2 separate regions of the Homo sapiens genome follow, and region 1 is linked to region 2. Evidence: promoter capture Hi-C in 16 types of primary human blood cells and fetal thymus (Javierre and others, 2016). All regions are on one chromosome and are shown on one strand. The core of a region is centred on a gene start or on the middle of the fragment in contact, and the rest is flanking DNA. Distances in the headings are between cores, read along the strand shown. Region 1 has its middle 22 kb from the start of PRP4K. Region 2 holds the start of BPHL (biphenyl hydrolase like).

Region 1 (2,803 bases), core at 212-2,711, 880 kb after region 2:
CTGTGGGGGCTCTTGGTCTAAACTTAGCTGGAAACAACTAAAATTTGGATAAATTCATATAAAAACAACAGTCTCCTTTGCCAAAGAAGCTGGAATATGGACTGACAATATTGAAATAAATTAAACAAATGTTTATCATATACTATCATGTGCTAAGCACTTTCAACTGCTAGGCAAACAGCTGCCAACAAAAATAGATGAGAACTCTGTAATTTTATAGAACTTGTGAAAATAAGTAATTCAAAATCAAAGCTATTGGAACGTTATTTTGAGCCTTAAAGGAATGTGATTATACGACCTGAGTCACTAACAGGCAGCTGTAACCTTTATTTCCCTAATTACGGATTAGCCTTGAATAAACTCAGGTGAGCCACTGTACCTGGCTTTGAGAATTTCAATAAAAGAAAAGGAGGTGTGCCTGAAACTTCAAGACTAAAAGAGATAAATTAAGGAGGGCCAATCATGGAGAGGTTTATAGGCCACAGTAAGGAGCTGGATTTTTTTTTATGAGTAATGAGAAAACATTAATGGATTTTTGCTCTGACAAATTAAAGCTGGATATTCCTCATCTACTGGTTGAAATAGGGGTAATCCTGTAGGGACATGGATCCCTCTTGGTCTAAACTTAACCAGAAACAACTAAAATTTGGACAAATTCATAAAAAGACAACAATCTCTTTTTCCAAAGACTCCAGAGTATGAACTGACAACACTGAAATGTTTTGGGAGAAAAGGAATAGAAGCAGAGAGAATGGATTGGAAATGACAATAAGGAGGCTTTCAAACAGCCAAGCATTCACCTTCCTAACATCACTGAAGGATCAGGCATGGGCTGGCCTCAGTACTTAATCGTTATTTTGAACTGTGGTGGCAACAGATCTCACCAGCTGAGAATTAAAGAAAAATTCTACTCCTAGGGCCAAAAGGAGACAACTTGGAAAGTTAGAAGTTAGAAGAAGTTCACAGCCATTTCATAAATGCTCAAAAAAAAAAAAAAAAAAAAACCCAAAACCAAAAAAAAAAAAAAAAGAAAAAAAAAAGAACACATTCTAAAGGTTTGGGTAAAAAATTTGCAAGAATTACTTGCTCTTTTCGCTGGGTGTGGTGGCTCACGCCTGTGATCCCAGCAATTTGGGAGGCCAAGGCAGGTGAATCACTTGAGCTCAGGAGTTCAAGACTAGCCTGGCCAACATGGCGAAAACCCATCTCTACTAAAAATACAAAAATTAGCCAGGTGTGGTGTTGCGCGACTGTAATCCCAGCACTTTGGGGGACCCAAGTGGGTGGATCACTTGTGCTCAGGAGTTCAAGACCAGCCTGGCCAACATGGCGAAACCCCATCTCTACTAAAAATACAAAAATCAGCCAGGCTTGGTAGCGTGTGCCTGTAATTTCAGCTACCTGGGAGGCTGAGGCAAAGAACTGCTTGAACTCGTAAGGCGGAAGTTGCAGTTAGCCAAGATCGCACCACTGCACTCCAGCTTGGGGGACAGAGAGAGACCCTAACTCAATTAAAAAAAGAAATTTTGTTTTGTTTTAATGAACCTTACAACAAAGCTGTTTATTTAAAAAAAATAAAAGCTGGTAACTAGTATGAGGTCAAATGCAGAAAGCCAGATTATAAAAAATTACCCATATAATGTGGAATATTAAAAATGGAAATATGAAAAAAATCTGAAAAATTATATGGGTGTGTTAGAAATGGATTAGTGAAGAAAGAACATGAAGAAATATAAAAGAACAGTATGGGAGGATGGTGAAGTCTAAAATACTATTGTCTTAAAGGAAAAAGTTTTTCATATTCAAAAGAGGAATGGATTGAATGTCTCAATTTAAAGTGACATCAAGCAATTCCAAATAAATGCCATGGTTTCTGGTCTATAGAGAAGGAAAAGTCTACATTCAAGTATGCTTGGTGTATAAATTAAGATTTTCATATGTCAAACCACTGTTCTAGTAAATATATATTATTACATTAATGCAGTGATAATTCCAGACACCAATTTCCCATGAGAGCCTATGGCTTCCTGAAGACATAACATGTCAAAGAAGTCTGTCGGAAGACTTAAAAATATACACACATATATATATTTAACAGAAAAATACTTTCTAATAAGCACACGAAATATTACCAACAATGTGGTATGATACATTTAAGAATGATATCCAAAATTTTAACCATTGGTATGGGCACTGATCAATCAGAAAGCAGGCTGGCCACACTACTATAGCAGGATCCTAGAGGCCCCAGATGGGACAGGCGTTAACCCTTTAGTTGCTGGGGAGTGTGATGGGGGGGAGGTCCAGTGGGAAGGCATTCAGAGGGCTCAGGGCAGCACCATTTACTAACCAGTATGGAAGTCTTTCCATATTTTAGCAACCAGCATGGCTATTCCAGCAGCCTTGAAGATACTAGCAGAGCATCAGCCCTGAGTGTGTCCACATAATACTCTGCAGGCACTATGTCTATTAATATGTAATGGCATCGAGTCATCCATGATACATTATTACATGAATGAGGTAGATTACATAACAGTGTGCATATTCTGATCCTTTTTAGTTCGTTGGCATGTGTGCAGGAAAAGATGGGAGTGAGAAGATTCATAGCCTCCAGTAGGATTGTGGGAGATTTTTATTTTTTCTTATTATATTTTCTAAACTTCTCACATATAAACACAAGTTAAAATGTTATGCTTAGAATACAGTATTATACTATTTTTGAAATTATGATGACTGGTACAAAAATATGAAAAGGGGAGTATTTACCAGTAAAGAAGCTCTGATCCAAAGAAAGCAAGAATGT
Region 2 (2,729 bases), core at 201-2,700:
TTACACCAAAAAGGTCTCTTGGAGGAGAAGAAATGCAATATGCAAAGAAGCTGTTGTCTCCAATTATTCAAGCCAAGGCTACAACAGTAGCCACAAATCTGCCAGTTATTTCCAATTAAGGCAGAACGATTGACTTAAAAAGCAATAGTTGTTTTTTTTCTCCACTGAGCTTTCAATTAGATAATGTCTATAACCTTTATAAAGCTGCAATTATACAGCCAAAAGAAAAAAAATTAATTGTGGTAAAACATACATAAAACTTACCACTTAAACCACTTTTAGGTGTGTAGTTCAGTGGCAGTAAGTACACTCACAATGTAATGCAGGCATCACCAAAATCCATCCCCAGGACTTTTTCATCTCTCCAAACTGAAACTCTGTCCCCATGAAACACCAACTTTCCATTCCCCCTTCCACCAGCCCTCAACAACCCCCATTCTATTTTCTGTCCCTATAAGTTTGACTCCTCTAGGTACCTTATTATATAAGTGGAATCACACAGTATTTGTCTTTTTTTGACTGGCTTACCTCCCTCAGCATAGTGTCCTCCAGGTTCATCCATGTAGTAGCAAGTGTCAGAATTTCGTTCTTTGTTCAGGCTAAAAAATGTTCCCTTGCATGCACAGACAACATTTTGCTTATCCATGTATCTGTTTTTGGACACTTAAATTGCCTCCACCCTTTTGGCTATTGTGAATAGTGCCGCTGTCAACGTGAGTGTAAAAACATTTCTTCTTGTACACCCTGTTTTAAATTCTTTTGGGTTATATACCCAGAAAAGAAAATGCTGGATCATATAACTGATTTGTTGAGGAACCGCAGTATTGTTCATCACATGGCTGCACCATTTTACATTCCCAACAGCAATATACAAGGGCTTCAATTTCTCTACATCTTCACCAACACTAATTTCTGGGGGTTTTGCTAGTAGCCATCCTAATGGGCGTGAAGTGGTATAAACAAAATTTAGATCCCATCATCTCCGAAAAGCAAATACACTTCCTAGTACTAGTCAGTACTAAATAGGTGCACAGCGTTTAGAACTTTACTTGATCCAACATAGCAGCCTGCCTAGAGCCGGAGCCCCGCCCACTCCGGAGTCCCGCCTGGACGCCGACGCAGCGAGGGCGCTATGGCTGGCGGCCTCGCCTCCTGGAAAGGCCATGGTCGCTGAGGCGACGAGCGAGGGCGGGGCAGCGCCGACGGGGACACTCATCCCGGGAGCCAGAGCCAGCACCGAGAGGGGACGGTCTACGCGGGTGCCGGCGGTTCCAGGACTGCGAAACCACGAGCCGAGTTTCGGTCGCCCATGGGAAAGCACCCGGCAGGGCGTGGCTTCGGGGCGGGGCGGGCAGAGGGCGGAGCAGGATGGAGAGGCGAGGTGGGCGGAGCAGAGGGCGTGGCTTCGGGGCAGAGTGGGCCGGGTACCGCGCTTGGTCTTAGCGCATGCGCACTCCCGGCAGCTACGCGACCTGTGACCATGGTGGCTGTGCTGGGCGGCCGGGGCGTGTTGCGCCTGCGGCTGCTTCTCTCAGCGCTGAAGCCCGGGATCCACGTCCCACGGGCCGGACCCGCGGCCGCGTTCGGGTAATGGCGGCCACCTCGCCCCGGGGATCCCCAGCATCGGCGCGCTCGAGGGGCGGCGGGAGGGGCGCGTGCCGACAGCAGGAGTTCCCGGCGCGCGGGCACGGGGCGTGGGCGCGGCCTGGCTGCCCTGTCGCCCTTTGTGCCGCGAGACCCCGATCCTGGGGGCCAGCCGCGCTTGGTGCTCGAGCCCCTCGATCGTGCATGCGCCTCGGTCAGCCTCAGTTCAAGGAGTCTGGAGCCGTGGAGGCTTGGGCTATAGAGTGCAGCCCCTTCAGTGTGCAGACCAGAGAGACCCAGGGAGATACATTTGCCTGTAGTATGGACTCACCCGTGACGGAGCACGGACTAGAATCCCAACGCCCTCATTAGTCCATTGCTCTGTCCAGAGTCCACACTAAGGGCATAAGGACAATAATCTCTTCTTTCTCTTATGTCAGAAATCAGCCTGAGCCTGAGTACCGCTAAGGCTTTAATCACGGGTCCCGAGAGCCCTAAGTCTTCTCTTTGCTTGCTGATCTCGTACCTTAATGTGCAAAAGAATCACGTTGGGAACTGAAAATTCAGAATCCTGGGCCTCACTCCCAGAGGATCTGATCTACATGTGTGGAGATGCCCAGGAATCTGCTTTATTCTCTTTTGTCCTCCCACCTGTCCCCCCATTTCAGGTAAAACAATAACAAAAAAACTGGATTAATTTCTGACCTTCTGTCTTGAAAATGGATACTCTTGGTCCCAAGAGATACTGGGCAGAAATGTGGATAGAGCGGCATGAAGCTTGTTTTACTTTATTCTCTACATACATCCCTACACACATGCAAACACACGTATACAACGAACGTACACAGTGCATGTGCGCAGTTGACTGTTGATGGGCTACTTTCATAAAGTCAGTACTAGATAGGTACACAGCGTTTAGAACTGTACTTGATCCAACATAGAAACTTTTAGTTTGAAAACTTGATTTAGAAGGAGAAAAGAGGGCAAATCTGACCAGCTTTTAAAATTTCATATTGCAATTGACTAGCTCCTTTAATTTTAGAATTATTATAAGATGGTCAGGGCTATTTTGATAGATGGAAAAACATGTTAATGGCTACAGCTGTATAAATTAACAGTGAAAATGATTATTTTTTCCAGTTTCC

Evidence for each region. Contacts are between HindIII fragments. The CHiCAGO score rates a contact against its expected background, and 5 or more counts as called.
Region 1: a fragment that was not itself captured here is called in contact with the fragment with the promoter of BPHL in region 2 in 2 of 17 cell types (naive CD4 T cells and M0 macrophages); the score reaches 6.0 in naive CD4 T cells.

The regions. Positions count from the first base shown.
Region 1 is chr6:3,997,722-4,000,524 of GRCh38, forward strand. No RefSeq gene overlaps it. Among named protein-coding and RNA genes, the nearest start is that of PRP4K, 22 kb to the right of the region's middle. The HindIII fragment of the contact is 4,300 bases long and covers 1-2,803 here.
Region 2 is chr6:3,117,261-3,119,989 of GRCh38, forward strand. BPHL (biphenyl hydrolase like) reads left to right here and starts at 1,451. Exons shown (of 7, transcript NM_004332.4): 1 at 1,451-1,587. The coding sequence starts at 1,481. It overlaps LOC107986556 (a long non-coding RNA gene), which reads right to left and starts at 1,387. Exons shown (of 4, transcript XR_001743928.3): 1 at 529-1,387. RefSeq lists an enhancer at 685-1,320 and a silencer at 1,359-1,748. The HindIII fragment of the contact is 8,418 bases long and covers 1-2,359 here.